4 separate regions of the Homo sapiens genome follow, and regions 2, 3 and 4 are each linked to region 1. The links are contacts of gene promoters, found by promoter capture Hi-C in human tissues and cell types (Jung and others, 2019). All regions are on one chromosome and are shown on one strand. The core of a region is centred on a gene start or on the middle of the fragment in contact, and the rest is flanking DNA. Distances in the headings are between cores, read along the strand shown. Region 1 holds the start of CC2D1A (coiled-coil and C2 domain containing 1A). Region 2 overlaps ADGRE5 (adhesion G protein-coupled receptor E5). Region 3 overlaps CACNA1A (calcium voltage-gated channel subunit alpha1 A). Region 4 overlaps LINC01841 (long intergenic non-protein coding RNA 1841).

What was found. Contacts are between HindIII fragments. The study calls those that stand out against the background at their distance.
Region 2: a fragment that was not itself captured here is called in contact with the fragment with the promoter of CC2D1A in region 1 in 1 of the 25 tissues and cell types used here (dorsolateral prefrontal cortex).
Region 3: a contact is called between a fragment that was not itself captured here and the fragment with the promoter of CC2D1A in region 1, in 2 of the 25 tissues and cell types used here (dorsolateral prefrontal cortex and lymphoblastoid cells).
Region 4: a fragment that was not itself captured here is called in contact with the fragment with the promoter of CC2D1A in region 1 in 1 of the 25 tissues and cell types used here (lymphoblastoid cells).

What each region holds. Positions count from the first base shown.
Region 1 is chr19:13,900,840-13,908,839 of GRCh38, forward strand. It overlaps CC2D1A (coiled-coil and C2 domain containing 1A), which reads left to right and starts at 5,362. Exons shown (of 29, transcript NM_017721.5): 1 at 5,362-5,662. The coding sequence starts at 5,603. It overlaps BRME1 (break repair meiotic recombinase recruitment factor 1), which reads right to left and starts at 5,278. Exons shown (of 9, transcript NM_001345843.2): 1 at 4,876-5,278; 2 at 4,023-4,074. The coding sequence starts at 4,053. RefSeq lists a silencer at 5,677-5,736. The HindIII fragment of the contact is 13,583 bases long and covers 1-8,000 here.
Region 2 is chr19:14,386,195-14,394,194 of GRCh38, forward strand. It overlaps ADGRE5 (adhesion G protein-coupled receptor E5), which reads left to right. Exons shown (of 20, transcript NM_078481.4): 2 at 2,256-2,306; 3 at 2,508-2,624; 4 at 4,730-4,885. Among named protein-coding and RNA genes, the nearest start is that of ADGRE5, 8.8 kb to the left of the region's middle. The HindIII fragment of the contact is 6,584 bases long and covers 581-7,164 here.
Region 3 is chr19:13,414,045-13,422,044 of GRCh38, forward strand. The region is part of intron 3 of CACNA1A (calcium voltage-gated channel subunit alpha1 A); the gene reads right to left. Among named protein-coding and RNA genes, the nearest start is that of CACNA1A, 88 kb to the right of the region's middle. The HindIII fragment of the contact is 6,305 bases long and covers 470-6,774 here.
Region 4 is chr19:14,347,978-14,355,977 of GRCh38, forward strand. All of the region lies in intron 1 of LINC01841 (long intergenic non-protein coding RNA 1841), which reads right to left. Among named protein-coding and RNA genes, the nearest start is that of LINC01841, 12 kb to the right of the region's middle. RefSeq lists enhancers at 337-1,215, 2,014-2,515, 2,516-3,015, 7,922-8,000. The HindIII fragment of the contact is 8,577 bases long and covers 26-8,000 here.

The DNA.
Region 1 (8,000 bases), core at 4,112-6,611:
TTTTGTGTTTTTAGTACAGATGGGGTTTCACCATGTTGACCAGGTTGGTCTCGAACCCTGACCTCAAATGATCCATCCACCTGCCTCGGCCTCCCAAAGTGCTCAGATTACAGGCATGAGCCATCGTGCCCAACAATCTTTCTTTTTTTCTAAGAGACAGGGTTTTGTTCTGTGGCCCAGGCTGGAGTGCAGGCGCAATCATAGCTCACTGCAGCCTGGAACTCCTCAGCTCAAGCCATCCTCCTGCCTCAATCTCCCAAGTAGCCAGGACTACAGGTAGGCACCACCACACTGGTTAATTAAAATTTTTTTTTTTTTTTAGAGACTGGGTAACATTATGTTGCTCAGGCTGGTCATGAACTCCTGGTCTCAGGCAATCCTTTCACCTCGGCCTCCCAAGTAGCCTGGAGTACAGGTGCGTACCACCAAGCCTGGCTATTTTGGGGTGTTTTTCTTTTCAAATGATGAAATTGTATAGGTATGTTGACAAGTAAACATGGTCATGATCTACCACAAAGTGAAAAATGGAGGTTGCAGATCAGTAAGTGTGATGATTCGATTTTCCAATAAAAACATTTTATCTGGGCCAGGCACGGTGGCTCATGCCTGTAATCTTTGGGAGGCTGAGGCAGGCGGATAACTTGAAGTCAGGAGTTAGAGAGCAGCCTAGCCAACATGGTGAAACCCCGTCTCTACTAAAAATGCAAAAATTTGCCAGGCATGGTGGCAGGTACCTGTAATCCCAGCTACTCAGGAGGCTGAGGCATGAGCATCACTTGAACCCAGGAGGCAGAGGTTACAGTGAACCAAAATCGTGCCACTGCACTCCAGCCTGGGTGACAGAGTGAGACTGTCTCCAAAAAAAAAAAAAAGAAAAAAGCTCAACACTGTATCTGTATATATACAGAAAAAGTCTGACCAGGCATGGTGGCTCATGCCTGTAATTCTGAGCACATTGGGAGGCCAAGGCAGGTGGACTGCTGGAGCCCAGAAGTTCAAGACCAGCCTGGGCAACATAGTGAGGCCTCGTCTCTTCCAAAAAATACAAAAATTAGCCAGTCATGGTGGCACACACCTGTAGTCCCAGCTATTCCGGAGGCTGAGGTGGGAAGATCACCTGAGCCTGGGGAGGTCGAGGCTGCAGCGAGCTATGATTGTGCCACTGCTCTCCAGCCTGGGCGACAAAGCAAGACTCTGTCTCGAAAAAAAGAAAAAAAAAAAAGCTGGGTATGGTGGCTCACTCCAGTAATCCCAGCACTTTGGCTGAGGCGGGCAGATCATGTGAGGCCAGGAGTTCAAGATCAGCCTGGGCAACATGGTGAAACCCCATCTCTACTACAAATACAAAAATTATCTGAGCGTGGTGGCAGACACCTGTAATCCCAGCTACTCAGGAGGCTGATGCAAGAGAATCGCTTGAAACCAGGAGGCGGAGGCTGCAGTGAGTCAAGATCGTGCCACTGCACTCCAGTCTGGGCAACAGAGTGAGACATCATCTTAAAAAAAAGTCTGAGCTGGGCGCGCTGGCTCATGCCTGTAATCCCAGCACTTTGGGAGGCCGAGATGGGCGGATCACCTGAGGTTGGGAGTTCGAGACCAGCCTGACCAACATGGAGAAACCCCATCTCTACTAAAAATACAAAAAAATTAGCTGGGCATGGTGGCATATGCCTGTAATCTCAGTTACTTGGGAGGCTGAGGCAGGAGAATTGCTTGAATCTAGGAGGCAGAGGTTGCGGTGAGCCGAGATCGCGCCAGCCTGGGCAACAAGATCAAGACTCTGTCTCAAAAACAAAAACAAAAAAGTCTGGGCTGGGCGCGGTGGCCTACTCCTGTATCCCCAGCACTTTGGGACACCAAGACGGGCAGATCACCTGAGGTTGGGAGTTCAAGACCAGCCTGACCAAACCCTGACTCTACTAAAAAAATACAAAAATTAGCTCAGCATGGTGGTGGGTGCCTGTAATCCCAGCTACTTGGGAGGCTGAGGCAGGAGAATCGCCTGAACTTGGGAGGTGGAGGTTGCAGTAAGCCGAGATCGCGCCACTGCACTCCAGCCTGGGCAACAAGAGCGAAACTCCGTCTCAAAAAAAAAAAAAAAAGTCTAGAAGCAGTGTACCGAGGTTAGAGTCCTGTCCTGTTTTTCATGCTGTTCTACAGTTGATCACTGTCCTATGGCTATGCTAGATGTCAACATTAGGGAAAGCTTGGAGAAGGGTAGCTAGAACTCTCTGAATTATTTTTGCAACTTTTCTTTAAGTCCCAGATTACTTCAAAATAAAAGTTTTCTTAAAAGTCTGGAAGAAGAATTGTTAACAGCAGTGTACATTTGTGTACTACCTTAGGTCAGTTCTGGGTGCTTTACAGATACTAATCCACATGTGAGCTCTAAGGGCAGGATTCTTCACCTTGGAGGACATTTGGGGCTGGATCATTCTCTGTGGCTGGGGGGCATCCTATGCATGGTAGGATATTTGAGCAGCATCCCTGGCCTCCACCCACTAGATGTCAGTATAATTTCCCCAGTTATGAAAACCAAAAAAAGTCTCTAGGCCGGGCACGGTGGCTCCCACCTGTAATCCCAGCACTTTGGGAGGCTGAGGCAGGCAGATCACCTGAGGTCAGGAGTTTGAGACCAGCCTGGCCAACATTGTGAAACCCTATCCCTACTAAAAATACAAAAATTAGGCGGGCGTGGTGGTGCACATCTGTAGTCCCAGCTACTTAGGAGGCTGAGGCTGCAGAATCGCTTGAACCCAGGAGGTGGAGGCTGCAGTGAGCCAAGATCTTGCTACTGCACTCCAGCCTGGACGACAGAGTCAGACTTGGTCTCCAAAAAAAAAAAAAATAAAGTCTCCAAACATTGCCAGCTGTCTCTGGAGGTCAAAATCCCTTCCTCTCACCTAGTTGAGAAACACTGCTCTAAAGGAAAGGGTAGTGGCTTTTATTATCCCCAATTTACAAAAGGGGAAACTGTGGCACAGAGGAAATCATCCACCACCACACACTGAGCAGAACTGGGATGAACCCAGGTTTTGGGCCCCAGAGTAAAACACTCAGCCACATACCGAGTGGCCTTGTAGTACATCAAGCATTATTCCAGGGGTCATCTCTGGGACTGGTTCCGCAGGGAGGCTGTCCCGCTGCCCTGAAGCCCGGGGAGGCCTCCTCTAAGCTGTGGGACCCCACCAGAGGCTTGCAGAAGCTCCAGAAAACTTTCACTTTTACTTTTCCTGTATGCCCTCTCCGTTATTTCTATTTTTCTTTCTTTCTTTTTTTTTTTGAGACAGGGCCTCAATCTATCAGTCAGGATGGAGTGCAGTGGTACGATCTGGATTCACTGCAACCTCCACCTCCCAGTTCAAGCAATCTTCCTGCCTCAACCTCCTGAGTAGCTGGGACTACAGGTGCCTGCCACCACGCCCAGCTAATTTCCTTACTTTACATTGTAGAGACAGGATCTCGCTATGTTGCCCAGGCTGGTCTTGAACTCCTGGACTCAAGCGATCCGCCCACCTCGGCCTCCCAAAGTGCTAGGATTACAGGCGTGAGCCACCACACCGGCCTTCTATTTTTCTTACCAGCATGAATTAAATCCTTTTTGTCTTTTTCTTTTTTTTGAGACAGAGTCTTGCTCTGTTGCCCAGGCTAGAGTGCAGTGGCACCATCTTGGCTCACTGCAACATCGGACTCCCAGGTTCAAACGATTCTCCTGCCTCAGTCTCCCGAGTAGGTGGGACTACAGGCATGTGCCACAACACCTGGCTAATTTTTGTATTTTTAGTAGAGACGGGGTTTCACCATGTTGGTCAGGCTGGTCTTGAACTCCTGACCTTGTGATCTGCCCGCCTCGGCCTCCCAAAGTGCTGAGATTACAGGTGTGAGCCACCGCACCCGGCCAATCCTTGCTTCCTTTTAAGGAGGTTAAGGCAGTCGTGTTAGCCAGATCTGCAATAAACAAGCCCACATTCTTCCCACAAGCAGAAGCAGAAATCAACAAGTGTCCATTTGAATGAACGTACCTGAGGTCCGCAGCTTCTTCCTCTTAGTCATTTTATCTTCCCCTTGAGAAATCTGAAAACAAGCAAAATCTCTCATCATTATAAGCAGTCTCTGTCTCTGTTTATATCCAGTGGCTTTGGCTGAGAGCAGAGGTTACCCCTACCTCCACCTCAGCCCATTTGGCTGCCCCAGGGGTCAGATGGCTCCCACTGGGACACAGGATGGGACACAGAGTCACAGCCACTTTGGGCCATGGCCAGGTAGGAATTCAAACCTCCTCCAAACTGAAGATCTTATGCCCAGGACCTGAAAGACAAATGGGCCCTGGGGGGTCCTTATAGATAGCCCCGGGGACCCAGACTCTGGTCCCTAGGATGAAACAGCCTGTGTGAAGCCCCTCCCTCCAGACTGGGGTATCTGGGGGCCCTTCCAAGGACACTTGAGGACTCTCCAGGGGCCTCTGGAGACCAGCCTGGCCAATATGGTGAAACCCCCTCTCTATTAAAAACACAAAAATTAGCCTGGGCATCGTGACGCACACCTGTAATCCCAGCTACTTGGGAGGCTGAGACAGTAGAATTCCTTGAACCCATGAGGCAGAGGTTGCAGTGAGCCGAGATCGCTCTACTGCACTCCAGCCTGGGCGACAGAGCGAGACTCCGTCTCAAAAAAAAAAAAAAAAATTAGTCAGGTGCGGTGGCACACACCCGTAATCCCAGCTACTCAGGAGGCTGTGGTACAAGGCCAGGAGGCAGAGGTTGCAATGAGCCAAGATCGTGCCACTTTAAAGGGGACAGCTGGGTCCTTGGAGGGGAAAGAGCTGCCATAGGCCGGTTTCTCCCAGCCTTGGGGGCGAGGCAAACCAGAACGGACCTGGGCCACAGAAGTCGTTGAGGACCCTCTGTCCTTATCAGAAACGAGCTCTGCCTGGATCAGTTGGGAATAAGTCGCTTGAATTATCCGCGTTACTCTTTTTGGAAAAAATAAATGGCCAAATTGGCCCTCACAGAACGCTGGAGGCCTCGAGTCCGGAGGTGAAAGATGGAAAGGCCTGAGGGTGGGCGCTGTAGACCCCGCTCCCGGTGACAAGCCCCACACTGACACTACGCCGACCACCGAGAAGTGAGGACTCCACAGGCCGAGAGCCCACGTGAAGCCGGAGCCCGTCGGTGACTGACAGACGCTCTGAACCCCACAGATGTCGCCGCCCCTCACACCTGCGCGCGCTCTGCCTCTTTCCCGCGCCCCGCGAGGTCCCGCCCCGCGCATGAGCGACGCAAACACCGCCCTCGCAGCCCGCGACAGTCAGCACCGCCCCAGCCAGGCGCCTGCGCGCCCACGCACTACCTGCCGGGAGTTGTAGTTTCGGCTCGGCAGACCCGGCGAGCCCAGTGGCCGCGCTCCGGTGCGGCGGCGCCCGAGGCCCGAGGCGGAAGTGGGACGGCCAAGCAGGGAAGCGAGGGCTCGGGATCGACGGCCGCGGGGCGCCGACGAGGAGTGCAGGACTCAGGAAGGGCGAGTGCGCGGCGACAGAGCCCGGGGAAGGAGGCAGGGCAAGGCCGGGCTTGGGGGCAGGTGGTCCGGGCATCCAGCCTTGAAGATGCACAAGAGGAAAGGACCCCCGGGACCCCCGGGCAGAGGCGCCGCGGCCGCCCGCCAGGTGAGTTTGCGCCCCACGGCCCGACCTGGGGATCCCTCCCCACCCCCGTCACTCGCTCAGGGAAGGGCCCCACCCCCCAGGGAAGCCCGATCTCCGCCCCACAGGTAAGCCCCGGTCCCCGCCTCCCCCCAGGTGAGGCTCCAACACCACCCAAGTGTGGCCTACTGGCCTTGGCTCCCCAGCTCCTGGGGCCCTGCCCCGGGTTCGGGGCCACCTGTTGCCACAGCTGCTCCAGTCGAGGAGGGGCAGTCCTCGGACTTGACACATCAAACCCTTGCATCAGTCGGGCCATGTCAGACTCTTTTTATTCCATTGTACAGATGAGGACTTTGAGACTCAGAGACGTGAAGACATCTGCCCAAGGTCATAGGGATTAACAGCTTGGCCAGGGCTAAGCACAAATCCAGGGCTGCAGCCATAAGCTTATGGCACTGTGGCTGGACCCCTTCTCACTCTCCCGACTTCTTTGCCCCAGGCACCAGATAGTTTGATTTTTCTCAGTTTTGATGGAAGGAGCCCAGGACATAGCTTGGTGTTCAGATATTAGAGTCTGGCTGACCTGAAGTTCCCTCCTGGCCTCTGTACATCGGACACTTGACTTTACAGCTCTGAGCCTCAGCTTTCTCATCTGTAAAATGGAGATCTCTATAATCCCAGCACTTCAGGAGATGGAGGCGGAGGCAGAGGTGGGAGAGTCATTTGAGGCCAGAGTTTGAGACCAGCCTGGGCAAAAGCAAGACCCCCGTCTCGACAAAAAAAGACTAACTGGGCATGGTGGCATGTGCCTGTAGTACTACTACTTGGGAGGCTAAGAAGGGAGGATTGCTTGAGCCCAGGAGTTCAAGACCGCAGTGAGCTATGATTGCGCTACTTCTGCTCCAGCCTGGGTGACAGAACAAGACTCTTTCTCTAAAATAAAGATAAAAAATTAAAAATGGAAGTCCGGGGTGGTGTCTCACACCTGTAATCCCAGCACTTTGGGAGGCCATGGCGAAACCCCATCTCTACTAAAAATACAAAAATTAGCTGGGCATGGTGGCGGGCACCTGTAATCCCAGCTACTCGGGAGGCTGAGGTGGGAGAATCGCTTGAACCGAGAGGCGGAGGTTGCAGTGAGCTGAGATCGCGCCACTGCATTCCAGACTGGGTGACAGAGCAAGGCTCCTTCTCAAAATAAATAAATAAATTCCTTCTGAAAATAAATAAATAAATAAAAAATTAAAAATGGAGACCTCCAAGAGACCCTACATTACAGGACAGTTGTAGAGAGTCATTGAGATAGTTTATGGAAAGTGCTAGAACATAGCACTCAATAAATGTTACTATTATCATTATTACTAGTTGGTGGAACCATACATAATTGCCAATATTTGGCCATTTTTTACCTACAGGAAAGGCAATTTCATATGGTTAAACACGATGTTATCACATCATGATTGGTCATTAGCCAAGATAGGAAGACGGGTCTGCATGGCAAACCTGCATTGTGGTTAGGGGTTCTTTTTTTGTTTGTTTGTTTTTGAGACAGAGTCTTGCTCTCTCGCCCCAGGCTGGAGTGCAGTGGCGCAATCTCGGCCCACTGCAACCTCCGCTTCCCGGGTTCAAGCGATTCTCCTGCCTCAGCCTCCCGAGTAGCTGGGATTACAGGCATGCGCCACCATGCCTGGTTAATTTTGTATTTTTTAGTAGAGACGGGGTTTCTCCCTGTTGGTCAGGCTGGTCTGTCTCGAACTCCCCATCTCAGGTGACCCGCCTGCCTCGGCCTCCCAAAGTGCTGGGGTTACAGGCGTGAGCCACCGTGCCCGGCCTAATTTTTGTATTTTTAGTAGTGATGGGATTTCACCATGTTGGCCAGGCTAGTCTCGAACTGCTGACCTCAGGTGATCCCCCCACCTTGGTCTCCCAAAGTGCTGGGATTACAAGCGTGAGCCACTGCACCTGGCCCTGTCGTCAGGGCTTCTAATTGCTCTTCTTTTTTTTTTGGAGACAGAGTCTTGCTCTGTTGCCCAGGCTGGAGTTTGGTGGCGCAATCTCAGCTCACTGCAACCTCCACCTCCCAGGTTCAAGCAATTCTCCTGCCTCAGCCTCCCGAGTAGCTGGGATTGCAGACACCGCCAGCACTCCCAGCTAATTTTTGTATTTTTAGTAGAGACGGGGTTTCACCATGTTGGCTAGGCTGGTCTCGAACTCCTGGATTACAGGCGTGAGCCACCGCATGCAGCCATCATGCTCTTGAAGCCCAACCTTCCCACACAGCCCCTCTGCTGAGGATGCTGGAAAGAAAAGCCCAAGTGTACAGAGTAGCTTTGCTTTGGGCAAAGTGTGGAGCCTGCTTCCT
Region 2 (8,000 bases), core at 2,623-5,122, 480 kb after region 1:
TGGTGAAACCCCTTCTCTACTAAAAATATAAAAAGTTAGCCAGGCGTGGTGGTGGGCGCCAGTAGTTCCAGCTACTCTGGAGGCTGAGGCAGGAGAATGGCGTGAACCCGGGAGGTGGAGCTTGCAGTGAGCAGAGATCACACCACTGCACTTCATCCTGGGCAACAGAGCAAGACTCCATCTCAAAAAAAAAAAAAAAAAAAAAAAAAAGAGAGGCCGGGCGCGGTGGCTCACGCCTGTAATTCCAGCACTTTGGGAGGCTGAGGCGGGCGGATCATGAGGTCAGGAGATCAAGACTACCATCCTGGCTAACATGGTGAAACCTTGTCTCTACTAAAAATACAAAAAAATAAGCTGGGCGTGGTGGCGGGAGCCTGTGGTCCCAGCTACTCGAGAGGCTGAGACAGGAGAATGGTGTGAACCCGGGAGGCGGAGCTTGCAGTGAGCCAAGTTTGCACCACTGCACTCCAGCCTGGGCGACAGAGCAAGACTCCGTCTCAAAAAAAAAAAAAAAAAAAAAGAGAAATGAAGATGGCAGGCTGGGCACGGTGGCTCACGCCTGTAATCCCAGCACTTTTGGAGGCCAAGGCGGGAGGATCACTTGAGGCCGGGAGTTCAAGACCAGCCTGGCCAACATGGTGAAACCCCGTCTCTACAAAAATACAAAAAAATCAGCCGGGCTTGGTGGCGGGTGCCTGTAATCCCAGATACTCTGGAGACTGAGGCAGAGGAATTGCTTGAACCCGGGAGGTGGAGGTTGCAGTGAGCCAGGATCGTGCCATCGCACTCCAGCCTGGGCGACAGAGAGAGACTCTGTCTCAGAAAAAAAATAAAATAAATAAATAAATAAAAGAAGAAGAAATGAAGATGGCAGTAAATGCTCAGGCACACCGGACAGCAGTCATGTGGTTTACTCCCACACACACTACACTGGGGAGTGGGCGCCATCATCCCTATTCTACAGAGGGAAACTGAGGCAGAGAGGCCCACTGTCTGGGATTTGAACTGGGGATGCCTGGCTCCTGTCTGTTTTCTTAGCCACTCCCCACACACCCCAGGTCAGAAGAGCAGCAGCTGGAGCTGAGACCCCCACCAGGCTCATGGCCCTTCCCTACTCAGTTCCTGAAACTCCACCCTCAAGCCGAGCTCGGGAGGCTGAGGCGGGGAGGATCGCTTGAGGCCAGGAGTTCAAGATCAGCCTGGGCAACAGAGCAAGACTCTGTCTGTAAAATAATTTTTTGAATTATTTTTAGGCCGGCCACAGTGGCTCATGCCTGTAATCCCAGCACTTTGGGAGGCCGAGGTGGGTGGATCACGAGGTCAGGAGATCGAGACCATACTGGCTAACACAGTGAAACCCCATCTCTACTAAAAATACAAAAAATTAGCCGGGTGTGGTGGTGGACGCCTGTAGTCCCAGCTACTCGGGAGGCTGAGGCAGGAGAATGGCATGAACCCAGGAAGCGGAGCTTGCAGTGAGCTGAGATCATGCCACTGCACTCCAGCCTGGGTGACAGAGTGAGACTCCGTTTCAAAAAAAAAAATTATTTTTAATTTTTTGGCCTGGCATGATAAATTATTTTATTTTAAAAATTTTGAGTCAGGAAATGTGGCTCACGCCTGTAATCCCAGCACTTTGGGAGGCCAAGACAGGCAGATCACCTGAGGTCAGGAGTTCGAGACCAGCCTGGCCAATATGGTGAAACCCTGTCTCTAGTAAAAATACAAAAAATTAGCCGGGTGTGGTGGCAGACTCCTGTAATCCCAGCTACTCAGGAGGCTGAAGCAGGAGAATCACTTGAACCCAGGAGGTAGAGATTGCAGTGAGCCAAGATCACAGCATTGCACTTCAGCCTGGGCGACAGAGCAAGACTCTGTCTCAAAAAGAAAAAAAAATTTAGTGCACACCTGTGGTCCCAGCTACTTGGGAGGCTGAGGCAGGAGGATCTCTTGAGCCTAGGAATTGGAGGCTGCAGTGAGATATGATTGCACCACTGCACTCCAGCCTGGGTGACCAAGCAGGAGCCTGTGTCAAAAAAAAAACAAAAACAAAAAAACCCGCCCCTATGGGAACAGGGTGACAGACTCTTTGGCTTTGAGCATCTGAGTGGGACATGACATCTGCTCACTCTGAACGACCGTCAGGATCTGAGCCTGAGAGGGGTCAGCATCCTCCTCCCACAAAGTGCATCACCCTTACGCCTCCTTTCCCACCCTGGGATCCCCTCTGACCCCCTTTCCTTTCTCTGTTGCAGCATTCTGTGTCTGGCTGACTCTGCCGGGAGCTGAAACCCAGGACTCCAGGGGTGAGTCTGCTGGGAAGCAGAAAGCACAGTCCACAGCCAGAGCCTGGGGAGGGTCCTGGACCCCCGCCCAGCCCCCTTCAGCCCAGGGAAAGAGAGGGCTCGCGCACGAGAAACTCAGCGCCCTGCCCCATCTCCCCCAGTGCCCCCTTTTTGTGTATTCCCTTACCCCTCACCTTCTGACCGTGCTCCCTGCTCTTGCAGGCTGTGCCCGGTGGTGCCCTCAGAACTCCTCGTGTGTCAATGCCACCGCCTGTCGCTGCAATCCAGGGTTCAGCTCTTTTTCTGAGATCATCACCACCCCGACGGAGACTTGTGACGGTACAGAGGCTTGAGGGCAGCGCAGGGGACATCCGCGATTATGAGGCATTGCCCAGCCAGTGGGGGACAGAGGTTGTTGTGAGGGGCCACAGCCTTACCTTCCAGACTATCATCATGGCCAGAGAAAAGAAAAAGAGGGCAGGCGTGGTGGCTCACGCCTGTAATCCCAGCACTTTGGGAGGCTGAGGCGGGCAGATCGTTTGAGGCCAGGAGTACTCAGAAGACTGAGGGGAGAGGATTATTTGAGCCCAAGAGTTTGAGGCTGCAGTGAGCTATGATTGCACCACTGCACTCTAGCCTGGGCAACAGAATGAGATCGTGTCTCAGGGAGAGGGAGAGGAAGGGGAAGAGGGAGAGGGGGAGAGGAAGGGGAAGAGGGAGAGGGGTAGGGGGAGGGAGAAGGGGAGGGGAAGGGGGAAAGGGAGGGGGATGGGGAGGGAGAGGGGGAGGGGAAGGGGGAAGGGGAGGGGAAGGGGAGGGGAAGGGGGAAGGGGAGGGGGATGGGGGAGGGAGGGGGGAAGGGGAGGGGAAGGGGAGGGGGATGAGGAGGGAGACGGGGAAGGGGAGGGGGAGGCAGAGGGAGAGGAAAGGAGGCAGGAAGGAAGGAAGGGAGGAAGGGAGGGAGAGAGATAGGCCCGGCATGGTGGGTCATGCCTGTAATCCCAGCACTTCAGGAGGCCGAGGTGGACAGATCACTTGAGGTTGGGAATTCGAGACTAGCCTGGCCAACATGGTGAAACCTCCTCTCTATACTAAAAACACAAAAAATTAGCCGGGGGTGGTGGTGGTCACCTGTAATCCCAGCTACTCGGGAGGCTGAGGCAGGAGAATCGCTTAAACCTGGGAGGTGAATGTTGCAGTGAGCCGAGATTGCGCCACTGCACTCTGGCCTGGGCGACCAGAGCAAGACTTTGTCTCAAAAAAAAAAAAGAGAGAGACAGAGAAGGAGAGAAAGAGAAAGAAAAGTAGGCCCGGCATGGTGGCTTACGCCTGTAATCCCAGCAGTTTGGGAGGCCAAGGCGGGCGGATCACCTGAGGTTGGGAGTTCGAGACCAGCCTGACCAACATGGAGAAACCTCATCTCTACTAAAAATACAAAATTAACCGGGTGTGGTGGCCCATGAGCACATGCTTGTAATCCCAGCTACTCCGGGGGCTGAGGCAGGAGAATCGCTTGAACCCGGGAGGCGGAAGTTGCAGTGAGCCAAGACCGTGCCATTGCACTCCAGCCTGGGCAACAAGAGTGAAACTCTGTCTCAAAAAAAAAGAGAAGAAAAGAACAAGAGAGAGAGGGAGGGAGGGAGGGAAAGAAGAGGGAGGGAGGGAAGGAGGGAGGAAGGAAGGAAGGAAGGAAATAAGGGAAGAATATGAAGGGGGAGAAGTAAGAAGTGAATAGGCATGGCTTCCTGGAGAGAGAGAAGCTGGGTGCTCAGGAATCTGGAGTCTGTGCCTCAGTTTACCCTTAAGACTGGGGAGGGGGTACATTCTGGCTATGAGGTTTTTTTTTCCTTTTTTTTTTTTTTGAGACAGAGTCTCACTCTGTCACCCAGGCTGGAGTGCAGTGACCCGATCTCGGCTCACTGCAACCTCCACCTCCTAGGTTCAAGCGATCCTCCTGACTCAGCCTCCTAAGTAGCTGTGATTACAGGCATGCACCACCATGCCCAGATAATTTTTGTATTTTTAGTAGAGACGGGGTTTTGCCATCTTGGCCAGGCTGGTCTCGAACTCCTGACCTCAGGGGATCCACCTGCCTCAGCCTCCCAAAATGCTGGGATTACAGGCGTGAGCCACTGCACCCGGCCGCCATGGGGTTTAAATTTCTACAAAGAGACTGGGGATGGGGATGTGGAGCTTCCTGTCCATCCCTCACCTCAGCACTGTTCACTGTGTCCAAATCTAAGATGCCAGCCAGAGAACTAAGATCAAGTGTGGTCTTCAGGAATGGCTTGCTCCAGCTGCAGCATAGCCTGTGCAGTGCAACTTAAGATTTTTTCCAAAAGATACTAAGCAGCAGGCCCCATGTTGGGGAGTCAGGATGGGGGTCTCTGCCCTGACAGAACTCACATCTTTGGGAGGTGACTCCCTGTCCTGTTGTGTTCCAGACATCAACGAGTGTGCAACACCGTCGAAAGTGTCATGCGGAAAATTCTCGGACTGCTGGAACACAGAGGGGAGCTACGACTGCGTGTGCAGCCCGGGATATGAGCCTGTTTCTGGGGCAAAAACATTCAAGAATGAGAGCGAGAACACCTGTCAAGGTAAGAACCACCCCACGTCCTCTGACTTTCCATCCATGAGGTTTGGGGTCACCAGAGCCATTCTGGCAGCATCCAGAGAGCAGGGCCTTGGTTGTAGGGTCAGTGCCTGGCGTCTGAGATGGGACAGGTGCACATGTACCTACCCCACCACCCCAGAGAGGCAGAGTGATGTGAGGATTAAGGGCTGACTCTGGGACCAGCTGCCTGGGCCAAATCCTGATAACCAAGTGTATGACGTTGGCCAGGATACTTATTCAGAAACCGCTGTCCACATGTGAGATGTGATAACGTTATCATGCTTGTAATTCCAGTGCTTTGGGAGGCTGAGGCGGGAGGATCTCTTGAGGCCAGGAGTTCAAGACCAGCCCATAGCAACATAGCAAGACCCCACCCCTATAAAAGGGGAGGCGAAGGCAGGTAGATTGTTTGAGCCCAGGGGTTCGAGACCAGCATGAGCAAGCGGGTGAAACCCCATCTCTACAAAAAATACCAAAAAAAAAAAAATTAATTAGCCAGGCATAGAGGCCTGCGCCTGTAGTCCCAGCTACTCAGGAGGCTGAGGTGGGATGATTGCTTCAGGCTGGGAGGTCAAGGCTGCAGTGAGCCATGATCAAGCCCCTGCACTCCAGCCTGAGTGACAGAGCAAGATCCTGTCTCTAAAAAAGAAAAAATCAAACCAAAGCTTTCTTGGAGGCAGGATTTTAAAAAATTAAAAACATTAAATGAAAAAAGAACTGGCCGGGCGCAGTGGCTCACACCTGTAATCCCAACACTTTGGGAGGCCGAGGTGGGTGGATCACAACGTCAGGAGTTTGAGACCAGCCTGACCAACATGATGAAACCCCCGTCTCTACTAAAAATACAAAAATTAGCCAGACATGGTGGCACGCGCCTGTAATCCCAGCTACCAGCTACTCCAGAGGCTGAGGCAGGAGAATCGCTTGAACTCAGGAGGCAGAGGTTGCAGTGAGCCAAGATCGCGCCACTGCACTCCAGCCTGGGTGACAGAGTGAGACTCTGTCTGAAAAAAAAAAAAAAAAAAAGATAGGTTGGGTGCCATGGCTCATGCCTGTAATCCCAACACTTTGGGAGGCCAAGGTGGGAGGATCACTTCACTTGAGTCTGGGAGTTCAAGACCAGCCTGGGTAACATTTCAAGACCCCATCTCTACAAAAACAAAAATATAGACAAGGGGAAGAAAGAGTCCTTATCTTTTATTTGTTTTGTTTGTTTGTTTTTGAGACAGAGTCTCACTCTGTCACCCAGGCTGGAGGGCAGTAGTGTGATCTCGGCTCACTGCAACCTCCGCCTCCTGGGTTCAAGTGATTCTCATGCCTCAGCCTCCCAAGTAGCTGGGATTACAGGCGTGAGCCACCATGCCCAGGCTGAGTCCTTATCTTTTAAAGATAAAAACAAAAGTAGCTTTGACTTTTGTTAAATATAGACCTTGGACAGGTTACTTTCACCTTGTTAAAAGGTTAAAGTTACTTTCACCTTGCTAAAAGGGGAGTAATGGCATTTACCTACAAAAGTATTTAACAGGCTGGGCACAGTGGCTCACACTTGTAATGCTAGTACTCTGGGAGGCCGAGGCAGGTGGATCATCTGAGGTCAGGAGTTCAAGACCAGCCTGGCCAACATGGCGAAACCCTGTGTCTACTAAAAATACAAAAATTAGCTGGGTGTGGTGGTGCATGCCTGTAATCCCAGCTACTCAAGAGGCTAAAGCACGAGAATCGCTTGAACCTGAAAGGCAGAGGTTGCAGTGATCCGAGATGACAGCACTGCACTCCAGCTTAGGTGACAGAGCGAGACTCCATTTCAAAAAAAAAAAAAAAATGGCTAGGCGCGATGGCTCATGCCTGTAATCCCAGCACTTTGGGAGGCCGAGGCGGGTGGATCACGAGGTCAGGAGATCAAGACCATCCTGGCTAACACAGTGAAACCCCGTCTCTACTAAAAACACAAGAAATTAGCCAGGCATGGTGGCCGGCATCTGTAGTCCCAGCTACTCTGGAGGCTGAGTCAGGAGAATGGCGTGAACCCGGGAGGCGGAGGTTGCAGTGAGCCGATATTGCGCCACTACACTCCAGCCTGGGCAACAGAGCGAGACTCCATCTAAAAAAAAAAAAAAAAATCACTTAAAAGCTCCTGGCTTGCAGAATGCACTCTATCAGCAATGGCTAATGGGGATTTTATTGTAATTCTGATCTGATGCGCCCCCAGGATGGGTATCCGTAGGGTGCGAGATCAGAGAGCAGCTGCAAGGCTCTACCCCTGCGCAGAGGCCACAGCCTTTGCTATGGTCTTGCTTGAGGCCACAGCTCAGGCCGGGAGAAACTGGGACTCCAGGCTTTGCCTATTTTCCAGGGAAGCTGGTTGGGCAGGGGAGGGGCTTCCAGGATTCACAGGGGCAGATGGGAGCCAGCAGTGGGCAGCTGGGAGCTGCGACTCATTCAAAGAGAGGGAGTTAGTGCAGGGTACCGAGATCAGGAAGAGGAGTGGTGCAGAGGTGGGAGGTGATGAGACTCAAGACTACAGAGAGAAGAAAGGGCCGGCAGCCCAGATCCCAGCCCCACCCCTCCTGCCCTGCATTCAGGCAGAGCACAGAGGGATAAAGAGGGAGGTGGGTTGGGGGACAAGGCAGAGATGCATATACCTGGGACGTACACCTGCGTGGAGCCCAGAAGGAGGCTTCTGTCCGCCACACTGCTAGTCCCCAGGGCCCCCTTGCAAGTGGACATCATGTTACCCCACATGCATGTGACTTGGCCAGAGGAGACAGAGTCTTCATGTGAACTGGAAAAAGATCCCCCTCTCCCGGTGGATACATTTGACAAACAAAAAGTGGGCTGGTTTTCAGCCCCTGCTCATCTCATTGGCCCAATACCTGTGCAGTGAGCAACCTGCACAGCTGTACTTGGTGATCATGGTTTCCTCCCAGGGTGCTCTGGCTAGGGGTGCCGCCCACCCACTGCTATGAACCCCCTGCATGGGATGGTGGTTGTGGTTATGAAGGAGGTGTGTTGCTGTGTTAGAAACAGGCCTGGGCTGAGAGAAGGGGACTCAGTCAGGCAGCTGGGCAGAGACATGGACAGCAGGGCTGAGGTGATAA
Region 3 (8,000 bases), core at 2,372-4,871, 490 kb before region 1:
GGGACCCCATCTCTACAAAAAATACAAAAATTAGCCAGGTGTGTTGGTGCCCGTCTGTAGTCCCAGCTACTCAGGAGGCTGAAGTGGGAGGATCCTTGAGCCAAGGAAAAAATTGAAACTGCAATGAACTTTGAGTCCGGGAGTTTGAGACCAGCCTGGGCAACATAGGGAGACTCCTTCTCTATAAAAATAAATAAAAATAAATTAGCCAAGCATGATGGTGCATGCCTGTGGTCCCAGCTACTCAGAAGGCTGAGGCAGGAGGATTGCTTGAGCCCAAGAAGTCGAGGCTGCAGAGTAAGCTGTGATTGCGCCACTGCACTCCAGCCTAGGCAATAGAGCGAGGCTCTGTCTCAAAAAAAAAGCAGGCAGATAGCAGCGAAGGACAATGTGCCACATTAAGGAGCTTGGATAGTATCTTGAAAGCAATAAGGGTTTAAAAACCAGGGAATGTTGGAGACACGTGGCACAAGAAAGGTGTCATCTAGATGGACAGAAGACCCTCATGATCCCATGACAGCGACTGGGAAGGGGTAATTAAAAACAAAGAAACACAAGCCAAAAGCATCATCAGGCTGAGAAGAGAAAATGTCTTAGCATGGCTGAGAACACACTCAAGAAATAGAAGCTCTGCCGGGTGTGGTGGCTCATGTCTGTAGTCCCAGCACTTTGAGAGACCAAAGTGGGCGGATCGCTTGAGCCCAGGAGTTAGAGACCAGCCTGGGCAACACGGCGAAACTCCATTTCTACCAAAAGTCCTAAAAAAAATTTGCCCGGGTGTGGTGGCGTGTGCCTGTAGTCCCAGCTATTCCAGAGGCTGAGGGGGGAGGATCGCCTGAGCCTGGGAGGTCAAGGCTACAGTGAGCTGAGATCACACCTCTGCACTCGAGCCTGGGTGAAAAAGAGAGATCCTGTCTCAAAACAAAAGCAAAACAAACAACAACAACAACAGAAGAGAAGTTCTGAGATGCCCATGTAGGACAGCTGGTTACTCATTGGGGGACTTTCCCAAAGCGATTTTGGGGAAGGTAGGAACTACTGGGATGAGGAGGGCATAGGAGATGGGCTGTATTCCCAGGGAGCTTAAAGGAGTCAGGGCAGAGGCTTCAGAGTAGGAATCAGGGCAGGATTTGGGGGATGGAAGATCCTGTCTTCCTCCGAGACAGAGAGAAGGCGGGTGTGTGTGCGGCGCGGAATAGAGGCAGGTGGTGCCGACAAGGAAACGTGCGGAAGGAAGGGAGATAGACGCAATCCCTGCATATTTTTCTCAGCCCATTCTGTGCTCTTCACAACACGCCTGCCTTTATGACCTGGGGGACAGGGTGAGAGGCTTCTGCATGTCAGAGCTAGACTGAGAGGATGTTCCTCCCTTGTCTTCAGAGCTGAGTGGGTCATAACATTTAGAACTAGATGAGGCCAGGCGTGGTGGCTCACACCTGTAATCCCAGCACTTTGGGAGGCCGAGGCGGGAGGATCACTCAAGGTTGGGAGTTTGAGACCAGCCTGGCCAACATGGCAAAACCCGGTCTCTACTGAAAACACAAAAATTACCCAGGCATGGTGGTGCACGCCTGTAGTCCCAGCTACTGGGGAGGATGAGGCAGAGAATTGCTTGAACCTGGGAGGCGGAGGTTACAGTGAGCCAAGATCATGCCACTGCACTCCAGCCTGGTCAACAGAGCGAGACTCTGTCTCAATTAAAAAAAAAAAAAAAAAAAAAAAAAAAAAAGTAGATGGGGCCTCAGAATTCACTGAGGCCAATTTCCTGATTTAACAATGAAGAGAAAACTCCAGAGGGACTGAGGGAGCTGTCCAAGGTCACCTAGCAAGTGAGGGACAGATCTGGGATCAGAAGACCAGTCTCTCACCAGCTGGCCTGTGTCTTCTACTGCACTGTGCTGGTCCCCACAGGCCTCTGAGCGGTCCTCTCTGATGAAGCTTCCTACGCTGATAAAAATATTCTCTATCCATGCTGTCCAATATGATAGCCACCACCCACAAGGGATGATTAAGCACTTGAAGTGCAGCCTGTGTGAGTGAGAAACAGAATTTTAAATTTCGCTTAATTTTTTTTGAGACAAGGTCTTGCTCTTTCACCCATGCTGGAGTGCAGTGGCACAATCACAGCTCACTGCAGCCTTGACCTCTTGGGCTCAAGCGATCCTCCTGCCTCATCCTCCCGAGTAGCTGGGACCACAGGCCTGCACCACCACGCCTGGCTAATTTATTTTTATTTTTTATAGAGATGGGGTCTTCCTATGTTGCCCAGGCTGGTCTCAAACTCCTGGGCTCAAGCAATCCTCTGGCCTCAGCTTACCAAAGTGTTGGGATTACAGGCGTGAGGCACAGCATTTAGGCTGTGTGCGGTGGCTCATGCCTGTAATCCTAGCACTTCGGGAGGCCGAGGCGGTGGATCACCTGAGATCAGGAATTCGGGACCAGCCTAGCCAACATGGTGAAACCCTGTCTCTACTAAAACTACAAAAATCGGCCGGGCGCGGTGGCTCACACCTGTAATCCCAGCACTTTGGGAGGCTGAGGCGGGTGGATCACAAGGTCAGGAGTTCGAGACAAGCCTGGCCGACATGGTAAAACCTCATCTCTACTAAAAATACAAAAAATTAGCTGGGCGTGTTGGCGGGCGCCTGTAATCCCAGCTACTCAGGAGGCTGAGGCAAGAGAATCACTTGAATCCAGGAGGCGGAGGTGGCAGTGAGCTGAGATCGCGCCACTGCACTCCAGCCCAGGCAACAGTGCTACACTCCATCTCAAAAAACAAAAACAAACAAACAAATTTAAAAAATCCAAAAATTAGCTGGGTATGGTGGTGCATGCCTGTAGCTACTTGGGAGGCTGAGGCAGGAGGATTGTTGTGTATATTTTGCCACAATCAAAACAAAACAAAACCCAAAACCAATTTAATATCCACATACGGATATTAATATCCAAATACGTGCAATTGGTGACCGAATTGCACGGTACAGCTCAAAGAATGTTTCCAAGAATGGCTTTTGATGACCACCTCAAAGCTCACAGTCTTTCCAGAGAGACCGTCACCCTCTCCCCAAGGGGGCAGCCTGATGTTCCAGGAGGTGGCAGCCACTCGTCCAGGTCAGAAAGCGACTGCCAAGAACTCACTGGACCTTGGAAGTCAGCCAGCTGCCAATCTGTCAGCTTGCATCCGGAGGGCTGGAGAAGAAGCGCTGTGTTAACTGTGCAACTCTGTGCTGCTGTGCACGCTCGGTATGTGGGTCCCGAGGGGTTTCCACTCCACTGGGCAGGAACAGGGAGGGAAGGCTGTCATGTTTCGGTTTCTGAATGTCCAGCTGCTGTGACAGCAGGAAAGAGTCGCCAAGGGCTGAGACTGGTGGGTGGGCTGGCTCCCCAGATAGAACAATCCACCCAGAGCCCATTCTGTAGGTAGTGAGGCAGCCTCCATCAAACCAGTCGTGGATTCTCTGTTTCTGTAGAGCTCTGCCTGTTTATGCCTCACTTTCTGGGGATGAACTGGCCTGGGCTTCTGCAATAATTTCAGCACAAGGAGTTAAAAGAGAACCATAGTTGCCCAGTGTGGTGGCTCATGCCTGTAATCCCAGCACTTTGGGAGACCGAGGCGGGTGGATCACAACAAGGTCAGGAGATCGAGACCAGCCTGGCCCACATGGTGAAACCCCATCTCTACTAAAAATACAAAAATTAGCTGGGCGTGGTGGTGTGTGCCTATAATCCCAGATATTTGGGAGGCTGAGGCAGGAGAATCGCTTGAACCCGGGAGGTGGAGGTTGCTGTGAGCTAAGATTGCACTACTGCACTCCAGCCTGGGTGACAGAGCAAGACTCCATCTCAAAAAAAAAAAAAAAAAAAGAGAACCATAGCATCTTCCACCAAGACACAGACCTCCATGGCCAGCCCTGTCCCCTGTCAAGAGCTCTCCCGGCCCCATGTTCTTTTCCTTCCTGGCGGTTAGCACAGTAGATGCTCAAAAAGGTATCTGTGACAATATTTGTGTTGCAAATGATGTCAAAACTGTGCAAAACCATGTTGGTTTGAATCCTGGCTCTGCCACTTACTGTTCCTCCTCAGGTGAGTTACTTAACCCCACTCTGTCTTGATTTCTCTGTGGTTTTCCCCATAGAGAGAAGACATTTGTTAATGTATGAAAAGTCCTTAGAACAATGGAATGAAGCTTCCATGAAGTCAGCTTTCTCAGGTCCACAGCAAATATTTGGGGGAGTGGAGGTGGGGGCAGAACCCTTCAGGCATTCAGTACAAGGTAGTGGTGTGTGTACGTGGGAGGCAGTCCCAGATGTCAGAACCTGAATTCAAAGCGCATTCTGGCTGTAGTGGGTTGAACAGTGAACCCTCCAGAAGTTATGTTGATGTCCTAATCCCTGGAATGCTACCTTATTTAGAAAAAATAAGGTATGCAGGTACGATTTAGTTAAGAATATGAGGGCAAGAGTTTATTCCTGGATTTTCTGAGTGGGGCCTAAATGCAGTCATATGTATCCTTATGACACAGCAGAAGAGGGAACTTTGAGAGGGAAGAGGAGAACGCCCTGTCACCACTGAGGCAGAGACTGGAGTGAAGCAACTCCAAATCCAATGGAAGGATCCTCCCCCGGATCCTTTGGAGGGACCCTGGTGACACCTCGATTTCAGACCTATGGCCTCCAAAACAGTGAGAGAATACATTTCCCTTGTTTGAAGCCGTGTGGTTTATGGTACAGTCATGTGCTACATAACGATGTTTTGATATGTTTTGATCAACAGCGGACTGCCTATACAATGGTGGTCCCATATGGTTATAACTGTATTTTTACTGTACCTTTTCTGTTTAGATATGTTTTTTATTTTTTATTTTTTTGAGATGGAGTTTTGCTCTGTCACCCAGGCTGGAGTGCAGTGGCATGATCTCAGCTCACTGCAACCTCCACCTCCCAGGTTCAAGCGATTCTCCTGCCTCAGCCTCCCGAATAGCTGGGATTACAGGTGCCTGCCACCACACCTGGCTAATTTTTGCATTTTTCAGTAAAGAAGGAGTTTCGCCATGTTGGCCAGGCTGGGCTCGAACTCCTGACCTCAGGTGATCTGGAATTACAGGCGTGAGCCACCGTGCCCGGCCTAGATATGTTTAGATACACAAATACTTACCATTGTGTTACAACTGCCTACAGTATTCAAGACAGTAACCTGCTGTGCAGGTTTGCAGCCTAGGTGCAATAGGGTATGCCCCATAACTGAGGTGTGCAGTAGTTTATACCATCTAGGTTTGTGTTAAGTTCTCTACATGATGTCCACACAATGACAAAATCGCCTATTGACTCAGTTCTTAGACTATATTTCCAAGGCTGGAAACAGTGGCTCATATCTGTAATCCCAGCACTTTGGGAGGTTAAGGTGGGAGGCTCTTTTGAGCCCAGGAGTTTGAGACCAGCCTTTGGTAACATAGGGAGACCCCACCTCTACAAGAAATTTAAAAATTAGCCAGGTGTGGTGGCATGCATCTGTGGTTCCAGCTACTCTGGAGGCTGAGGTGGGAGGATCGCTTGAACCCAGGTGGTCGAGGCTGCAGTGAGCTGTTATCAGGCCACTGCACTCCAGCCTGGGTAACAGAGTGAGACCTTGTCTCAAAAGATAAAAAGTATCCCCCAGGACAATGTCAGTTAAACAAGATCTGTAGATTTTGTTATCTAATTAGACCCAGGATAGAATGGATGTGGGACAAGTAAGAATGCTGTTAAAATGAAGAAAATCCTGGCCGGGCATGGTGGCTCATGCCTGTAATCCCAGCACTTTGGGAGGCCGAGGTGGGTGGACCACTTGAGGTCAGGAGTTCGAGACCAGCCTGGCCAACATGGTGAAACCCTGTTTCTATTAAAAATACAAAAATTAGCTGGGTATGGTGGCGGACACCTGTACTCCTAGCCACTCAGGAGACTGAGGCAGGAGAATCACTTGTATCTGGAAGGTAGAGGTTGCAGTGAGCCGAGACTACTACACTCCAGCCTGGGCGACAGAGCGGGACTCTATCTCAACATAAAAATAAAAATAAATTAAAAAATAGAGAAATGATTAAAAAAGAGACTGCTGTTGACTTTGGAATTTTTGGGCAGGGGTCAGCAAACCCCATGGGCTGGCCATCTATTTTTATAAAGTTATGTGGAATTCAGCTGCATCCATTCATTGACCTATTGCACAGAAAGGCTCGCTCTCTCTCTCAAGCAGAAGGAGGCTCACTTCATGGTCTCTTTTCTTAAGTAAAGCAGTGAATTGAGTTGAATACTATTTCCCCCAAATTCGTGTTTACCGAAACCTCAGAATGCAATCTTGTTTTGAAATAAGCTCTTTGCAGATGTAACTAATTAAGGATCTTGAGGTGAGATCATCCTGGATTTAGAGTAAGCCCTAAATTCAATGACTGGTATCCTTCTAAGAAGAGGAAAGGACATAGACACACAGAGAAAAAAGGCAAATGAAGATGGAGGCAGAGATTGAAGTGGATGCCAGACAAAGAATACCAAGGGTTGCCAGGAGCCACCAGAAGAGGCAAGGAAGAATTCTTTCCTAGAGCAGTTGTCAAGGTGGCTCTGCTGACACCTTGATTTTAGGCTTCTAGCCTCCAGAACTAAGAGAAAATAAATTTCTGTTGTTTTAAGCCGCCAAGTTCATGTTACTCTGTTATAACAGCCCTAGAAAGCCAATATAGGGAGAGAAAGATGAGGTGACATGCCTTTGCCCCTGATTTAATACTTCAGTTAATTCTGGAAAAGAACCCCTTATCAGATAGGTCCTGTTTGACAATTTGATTCAATAAATATGGTAGCAACCACTGGATGTCCACCACTCCCCCATCCCCCACCATCTTCTACAGTAATGGAATTTTAGCCAAGTCATGGAGTTCCCAACAAAACTACATTTCCCAGCATCCCTAGCAGTTTGGTATGATCACATGATTAAGTTTCCATCAGTGATATGTCAGTGGAAGTGACAGCTGCCACTTTTGGGTCTGAGACTTCAGAAATTCAAGGTCTGCCTATTCAAGACCAGTTAAGTTTTGATTGTGCAAATGGTGCTGAAGATCATTTGGTGGTAGAAAAGAAGAGGGCAACAGGAGCCTGAATCCCTGAGTGACTTTGTGGAAGTGAGCTTCCCTGCCAACCTGCATGGCTAACCTTGCAGCTATTATAGGAGAGAAATTATTTTTTTTTCTTTAAGGTTTTAATCCGGTGGCCTTTTGGGTCTCTTAGTATGGCAGCATACCTTTGCTACATAATATAATAAATATTAATTATGTACCCAGGAAGTTGTAGTCATGGGGGATAGGACAATGACTGGATGGGTAGGGCCCTGCTCTCATGGAGCTTACAATCTAAGGGAAGGAAAGCAGATAATTTAAACCTCAATTATAATACAGGGGGATAAAAAACCTGGTGGAAGAGCACTGCTATGGTCTGAATGTCTGTGTCTTTCTCAAATTCATATGTTGAAACCTAGTCACCAATGTGAAGATATTAGGAAGTGGGGCCTTTGGGAGGTGATTAGATCATGAAGACAGAGGGATTCATGCTCTCATGAAAGAGGTTTCAGAGAGCTGCCTCAACTCTTTTCACCATGGAAAGATGCAGTAGGAAGACCCCTTCTACGAAACAAGAAATGGCCCCTCATCAGACACCAAATCTGTCAGTGCCTTGATCTTCCCAGCCTCCAGAACTGTGGAAAATAAATTTCTGAGGTGTATAAGCCACCCAGTTTAAGGTATTTTATTATAGCCACCTGAGAGGATTAAAACAGGTGCTCTCTGGGCAAAGGAAGTGTCCTCATCCAGATTTGGAGGGTCAGGAGAGGGTTTTTGGAGGAAATAATGCCTATTCTGAGACTTGACAGCAAAGGGTGGAAAGAAGAAGAGTATTTCAAAAAGAAGGAAAAATAATTCCAAGGCTATCCAGTGACAGAAAGTATAGGATGCTAGGGGATCCTTAAAAAGTTCAATGGGCTGG
Region 4 (8,000 bases), core at 3,064-5,563, 450 kb after region 1:
CAGGAGATGGCTTGAACCCAGGAGGCAGAGGTTGCACTGAGCCAAGATCCTGCCACTGCACTCCAGCCTGAGTGACAGAGCAAAACCGTGTCTCAAACAAACAAACAAACAAAATGGGCTGACTCTGGACTCACACAGGCCTGGTGTCTCCAATCCCAGCCTTGCCATTTTCTGGCTCTATGAACCTGGGTGAGCCGCATCGCCTCCCTGAGCCTCAGTTTCCCCATCTGTAAAACGGGGATTCACCCATTCACCATTCCACAAATGTGCACCCAAGACCCACTGACACCAAGCGCTGCGCCCAGCTCTAACCTATATAAAGTTAAGGAAGAACACGAACATGGTAAGTGCGTCTCCCCCTCCCCCAGGCATGGAGCTGCTGAACTAGTTTTGGGAATGGAATCAGAGCACGCGTGGACAGATGGAGGGAGCCCTCAGCTGCCCGGACTCTGCAGCCCACCACCCCCACTCTTCTCAGATCCCCCTCGTTTGACCAAAAAGCCCCTCTACCACGAGGTAGGACCCCAAGCAGGATCCCAGGGACTGGCGTCCAAATCCGGGCCAGGAACTGACCCCAGCAGCCAGACCCGGGACGGGGCTAAAGCTCGGGTTTTTCCACCTCCGCTTCCCGCCACTGCAGCGCGGGGAGCGAGCGCCACCTGTGGGCCTCCAAGGGGAGGTGCGTGCGACTCCCGGGGAGGTGGACGGTCGCCCCCGTTTCTCCCCAACCCGGGGGACCTCGGGCCCTCCAGGAGTTTCGGAAACAGCTCTCATCTCTTAAATTCTCCTCCACAACCCACTTTTCCCGGCTGCCATTTCCCAGCTAGAACTCGTCGTCCATGCATTCATGCAACATTTATTGAGCACCTACTGTGTGTATTGAGCAAACCTAGATCATTGCTCTAGGTTTAGAGTACACAGAAGACAGAATGGGGCTGGCTCAGGCCTGTAACCCCAGCCACTCAGGAGGCTGAGGTGGGAGGATCACTTGAGCCCAGAAGATGGAGGCTGCTGTGAGTCATGATGGCACCATTGCACTCCAGTCTGAGAAACACAGCGATACCCTGTCTCTAAAAGTAAAAAGAGGCCAGGTACAGTGGCTCGGCCAGGCACGGTGGCTCACGCCTGTAATTCCAGCACTTTGGGAGGCCAAGGCGTGCGGATCACGAGGTCAGCAGTTCGATACCAGCCTGACCGACATGGTGAAACCCCCTCTCTACTAAAAATACAAAAATTAGCCAGGCGTGGTGGCGGGCGCCTGTAATCCCAGCTACTCAGGAGGCTGAGGCAGGAGAATTACTTGAACCCAGGAGACGGAGGTTGCAGTGAGCAGAGATCGTGTCACTGCACTCCAGCCTGGGCGACAGAGCAAGACTCCATCTCAAAAAAAAGAAAAAAAATGGAAACAAAACAGATAAACCTCCATGCCCTTCTGGAGCTTACAGTCCAAGGGAAGAGAGAAGAGAGGAGGAAGAGGACAACAGGCTGCAAGATCATTGCTGATGGCAGTAAGTGCAGTAAGTGTTCTGAAGGAGAAAGTATATACAGGGATGTCACTGAAGCACCTGCTGTGGGTAGAGTGGGTGGAGTGGGCTCTGAGGAAGTGACGCTTATCCTGAGGCCTGAGAAGAATAAAGCCCCAGCCATGCCGAGTCTGGAGCCAGGATTTCCAGTAGAAGGCGCAGCCAGCGCAAAGGCCCTGTGGCAGAAAGGAGCTCGGGTGTTGAACAGTGGGAAAGGAGGTCACAGTAGCCAGAGCCGAGAGATGAAGAAACAGGTGGGCTGCGATGTCAAGGCCTATTTTGGAGACAAATCTGATCTCTCACTCCCCCTGAGGAGTCACCTCCTAAAAGCCCGAGGGGAGAAGAAGGCTCACACTGAGCTAAAAGCCCTCCAACACCACCAGCTGCACCCTTCTCGTCGCCCACCCACAGATATGGTGTCGCCCACAGAAAGAAGCCCTGGCCCATGCACTGTCCCCCTACCCACCCCACCACTCTCCCAGGACTTTGCCTCTGACCATATTGACCCCAATTATGCAGTTAAGGTGCACGTGGTCGGCTCTGCTTGCAAAGTCCCCTTCTTACCCCCTGCCCATCTCCCTGGGAGACACAGGGAACCATGCAATGTGCCTTCCAAGACCAATGCTTGGCCAGGCGCGGTGGCTCATGCCTGTAATCCCAGCACTTTGGGAGGCCGAGGTGGGCGGATTGCCTGAGGTCAGGAGTTTGAGACTAGCCTGGCCAATATGGTGAAACCCCGTCTCTACTAAAAATACAAAAATTAACCGGGCGTTGTGGCAGGCACCTGTAATTCCAGCTACTCGGGAGGCTGAGGCAGGAGAATCACTTGAACTTGGGGGGCAGAGGTTGCAGTGAGCTGAGATTGTGCCACTGCACTCCAGCCTGGGTGAAAGAGTGAGACTCCGCCTCAAAAAAAAAAAAAAAAAGTTGCCAGCCCCACACACGGACCTCAGCCCGGCCTGCCCCCTTTGCCTTCATACTCCCGAGAGCAGTCTCCCCATGTGGCCTGACAACCCCAAAAGGGACTATGCAGGGAGGAGATCTGGTTTCATGAACATTGCTCTTGGGATCCCTGCCTGGGGGTGGCCACGAGAGAGGCTGTGGGTCTTGCGCAGCCACAGAAGGGGAGCAGAGCCCTGTCCCCGACTCCCCGCCAGTGCAGAAGGGGTACACCCTCTCTCCACAGCCTGGCCTCAGTTCTGGGGACTGCCTGGCTATTGGGGAGAGGGCAGAGCCTCTTGGAGCTTGTAATTAAGGCTTCAGAGGCACCGACTTAATTACTACCTTGTGAAGGGTTAATTACCCCTAATTGTTCAGGAATCAGGCAATTTTTGTGCCTTCAGAGAATCAAAATATTTTCCCTTCCAGAAGTGCCTCCTCCCTTTTGCTTTTTCTAATTTCCCTGCAAGGAGGGGCACGATGGGCTGGGTGGGGTCCGGAGGATCGGAAACCACCAGTCTCCCCTCAGAGAACACACTTGCCGGGCCTGCCGCAAGCAAGAGCGGGATTCAGAGGAGAGAGGTTCCCAGCCAGCTCAAGGCAGGAAGACTTCCTGGAAGAGGTGGCCATGGGTTGGTCTTAAGGACCCCAAGTCAACCTCCCAGGTAAGCCAAGGGCTCCTAGAATTCTGTGCCACCTAGAGGGTAGCAGGGCCTGGGGAAGCTGGAGCTGATGGTTTCAGGCATGGGAATGCTGCCTGGAGTCTCAGTTTCCTCACTTGTTAAATGGGGCCAGGGCTGCGATGAGCCAGGCAGAGTGAGCAGGGAATAAAGGCTGCCCTCGGAGATGAAATCCTGGTGGGCACCGAGAAGACATCACTCATCTGCAGCTCATCTAGCTTGTTGCTCCTCTGCCTGGGTTTGTAGTAATGTAAGAATTAGGGCCCACCCACTTCCCAGCCCTCATCTCCCTGCCTTCCTCCTAACCCCCTTGATGGGCTTTGAACACACCGCACTGGTTCCCAACTCAGAACTTTTGTCCCTGGTGTTCCCCCTGCCTGGCTTACTTTCCCCCCTGATGGTGCTGTGTCTGAGAAGCTTTTGTCCTGAAATGTCACCTCCTCCAGGGAGCCTTCCCTGACCACCCTCTCTCCCCTGAACCACTCCTTCCTGGGAATTCTCCAGCTTATCACACTTCTTCTTTTTTTTTTTTTTTTTTTTCAGGTGGAGTCTCGCTCTGTCGCCCAGGCTGGAGTGCAGTGGCGTGATCTCTGCTCACTGCAAGCCCCTCCTCCCAGGTTCACACCATTCTCCTGCCTCAGCCTCCTGAGTAGCTGGGACTACAGGCACCCGCCACCACACCCGGCTAATTTTTTGTATTTTTAGTAGAGACGGGGTTTCACCGTATTAGCCAGGATGGTCTCCATCTCCTGACCTCGTGATCCGCCTGCCTCGGCCTCCCAAAGTGCTGGGATTACAGGCGTGAGCCACTGCGCCCGGCCTTCTATCTCTCTTTTGCTCTCTCTCTCTCTCTTTTTTTTTTTTTTTTGAGATGGAGTCTCACTCTGTCACCCAGGCTGGAGTGCAGTGGCATGATCTGGGCTCACTGCAACCTGTGCCTCCTGGGTTCAAATGATTCTCAGGCCTCAGCCTCCCGAGTAGCTGGGATTACAGGCGCACACCACCACACCTGGCTAATTTTTTAATATTTTTAGTGGAGATGGGGTTTCACCATGTTGGCCAGGCTGGTCTCGAACTCTTGACCTCAAGTGATCTGCCCACCTCGGCCTCCCAAAGTGCTGGGATTACAGGCATGAGCCGCTGTGCCCGGCCCTTGCTCTCTGTTTTTACAGAGACAGGGTCTCACTCTGTTGCCCGGGCTGGAGTGCAGTGGTATGCTCATAGCTCACTACAGCCTTGAACTCCTGGCCTCAAGCGATCCTCCAAAGTAGCTGGGACTATAAGCACGCACCACCACATCTAGATAATTTAAAAATAGTTTTTTGCAGCGATGGGGTCTTGTTATGTTACCCAGACTGGTCTCAAACTTACGGCCTCAAGAGATCCTTCTGCCTCTGCCTCCCAAAGTGCTGGGATTACAGGCATGAGCCACTGCCCCTGGCCACACTTTTACCTCTCTTATGTAAATTGCCTTGTTTAGATCCTGGCTGGGTGACTCAGGGCCCAGTATCCTCATCTGTGAAATGGGGGTGATGACAACAGCCTCCTCAGAGTTCCAGACCTGACTGTGGTGGCCGTGGGGGTCCGGTGGGTTGAGACCTTCTTCTATGGCCAAGGAGTGGACTTGGGGGAGCAGGGCAAGTGAGCCAGGAGCAGGGGCCAGAGGGCCGGAGCAGGGCAAGTGAGCAAGGCTCAAGTGATGGGTCAGTCAGAAGGGGTTAGAGGACTGACATGGTGTCTCACGCCTGTAATCCCAGCACTTTGGGAGGCTAAGGCGGGCAGATCACTTGACATCAGGAGTTCGAGACCAGCCCGGGCAACATGGTGAAAGCCCGTATCTACTAAAAATATGAAAATTAGAGGCCGGGCGCGGTGGCTCATGCCTGTAATCCTAGCACTGCGGGAGGCCGAGGTGGGTGGATCAGGAGGTCAGGAGTTTGAGACCATCCCAGCCAATGTGGTGAAACTCTGTCTCTACTAAAAATACAAAAATTAGCTGGGCATGGTGGCATGCGCCTGTAGTCCCAGCTACTCAGGAGGCTGAGGCAGGAGAATCGCTTGAACCCGGGAGGCAGAGGTTGCAGTGAGCCTAGATTATGCCACTGGACTCCAGCCTGGACTCCACTGGCAGCCTCACAGAGGGAGACTCCATCTCAAAAAAAAAAAAAAAAGAAAGAAAGAAAGAAAAAAAGAAATTAGCTGGGCATGGTGGCGGGCACCTATAGTCCCAGCTACTCAGGAGGCTGAGACACAAGAATCACATGAACCCAGGAGGTGGAGATTGCAGTGAGCAAAGATCGCACCACTGCACTCCAGCCTGGGTGACAGAGCGAGACTCTGTTTCAAAAAAAAAAAAAAAAAAAAAGGGCGTGGTTAGAGAGGAGGCAGACTTGGGAACAATGGGTATACTGTTATGACCTCATTTTATAGATGGGGAAAGTGAGGCCCCAGAAAGGTGAAGTCACTTAGCGAGGGCACGCAGCCCTCTAGTGGGGGAGCCATAATTCATTCCCATACTGGGCAGAGTCCCCCACACAGAGTGGGGGAGGGGATGGCAGGGGAAGGCGGAGGAGGGAATGATGGGTGGAGAGCTGTTTGGCAGAAAGGTGAAATACGGTTTTGATTCAGCTGTGTTGGAGGACATAGTGACTCTGCCAAGATATAGTAGAGATTAAATTAGGCGCGCTGGCTTACGCCTGCAATGTCAGCATTTTTGGAGGCTAAGGTGGGCCGATCACTTGAGGTCAGGAGTTTGAGACCAGCCTGGCCAACATGGCTAAACTCCGTCCCTACTAAAAATACAAAAATTAGCCAGGCATGGTGGCAGGTGCCTGTAATCCCAGCTACTCGGGAGGCTCAGGCAGGAGAATTGCTTGAACTGGGAGGCAGAGGTTGCAGTGGGCCAAGATCATGCCACTGCACTCCAGCCTGGACCAGAGTTGGTCCTGAAAAAAAAAAAAAAAAAAGAGAGAGAAAGGAGGAAGGAGGGAGGGAGAGAAGAAAGAAGAGAGTGAGCAAGGGAGGGAGGGAGAGGTGGTTGATTGGGGAAGACTATTCTAGTTGCAAGTAAAAAATCCAAACCCAAACTGGCTTAAAGAAAAAATAATGATAATTTATTGGTTTGTGTCATTGAAAAGTTTAAGATATGTTGGCTTCAGGGACAGCTGGATTCACGGGCTCAAACAAAGTAATCTGGCTGGGTGTGGTGGCTCATGCCTGTAATCCCAGCAGTTTGGGAGGCCAAGGCAGGAGGCTTGCTTGAGCCCAGGAGTTTGAGACCAGCCCGGGCAACATAGTGAAACCTCATCTCTATAAAAAAAAATTAAAAAATAAGGAGGGAGGATCACTCGAGCCTGGGAATTGAGGCTGCAGTGGAACCATGATCGTGCCACTGCACTCACACCTGGGTGACAAAGTGAAGCCCTGCTTCAAAAGAAGAAAATAATAATTCCTGGGCTCCCTCTGATTGGACAGTTTGGGGTCACATGTCATTTAGGAACCAATCACAGTGGCTAGAAAGGATAGAATGAGTCCATGAGCCACTCCTGTTGATGAGGGTGGGGATGGCCCTACAGACCTCAGTAGACAAAGAGTGTAGGCAAAAGTGACAATTTATTCAAGAAACATTTATTTATTTATTTATTTTGATTTATTTATTTTTTTGAGACACAGTCTCGCTCTGTTGCCCAGGCTGGAGTGCACTAGCGCAATCTCAGCTCACTGCAACCTCCGCCTCCTGGGTTCACACAATTCTCCTGCCTCAGCCTCCCTAGTAGCTGGGATTACAGGCACGCGCCACCACACCCAGCTAATTTTTGTATTTTTAGTAGAGACAGGGTTTCACCGTGTTGGCCAGGCTGGTCTCGAACTCCTGACCTCAGGTGATGTGCCCGTCTTGGCCTCCCAAAAGTGCTGGGATTACAGCCCTGAGCCACTGCACCTGGCTGAGAAACATTAATTGAGCACCTGTGGTGTCCCTGGCCCTGTTTTAGGTGCTGAGGATACAGCAGTGAACAAGACAGAAAAACCCCTGCCCCCATGGGACTGACACTCTATGTAAATTCATGAATTAAAATATTAGAAGGTGATGTGCTATAGAGAAAAATAAAATAGAGGGGAAAGGTTAGAAAGGACTGGGGGAAGGAAGCTAAAATTTCAAATATGGGGGTCGTCAGGGAAGTACTCACTGAGGAGGTGACCTCTGAGCAAGTATGTTAGGCAGACAAAAGAGTGAGAGGGGCCAGGCGCAGTGGCTCATGCCTGTAATCCCAGCACTTTGGGAGGCCAAGGCAGGCAGATCAGTTGAGGTCAGGAGTTCGAGACCAGCCTGGCCAACATGGTGAAACCCCGTCTCTACTAAAAATACAAAAATTAGCCGGGCGTGGTGATGCCCACTTGTAGTCCCAGCTTTTCGGGAGGCTGAGGCAGGAGAATGGCTTGAACCCAGGAGGCAGAGGCTGTGGTGAGCTGAGGTTGCGCCACTGCACTCCAGCCTGGGCAACAGAGCAAGACTCTGTCTCAAAAACACAAAATAATAAAAAAATAAAAAAATATCTGGGGGAAAGGTGTTCCAGGCAGAGGGAACAGCGCATGCAAAGGCTGTGAGGCTGGACTGGGCCTGGCATATTTATTTGGGGAACAGTGAGGAAGCTGGGGTGGCTGGAGCCAAGTGAATGAGGGGAAGAGAGCTGGAGGTGACAGGGCAAATCACACAGCCAAGCCTTGTGGGCCTTGGGGAAGACTGGATTTTACTGGGTGAGGTGGGAGCCATAGAGGCTTCTTGGAGAGAGGAAGAGCTTGGTCTGAACGGATTCAGGTGCTCACAGGAAGAACAGACGGCCAGACCAACATAACAGCT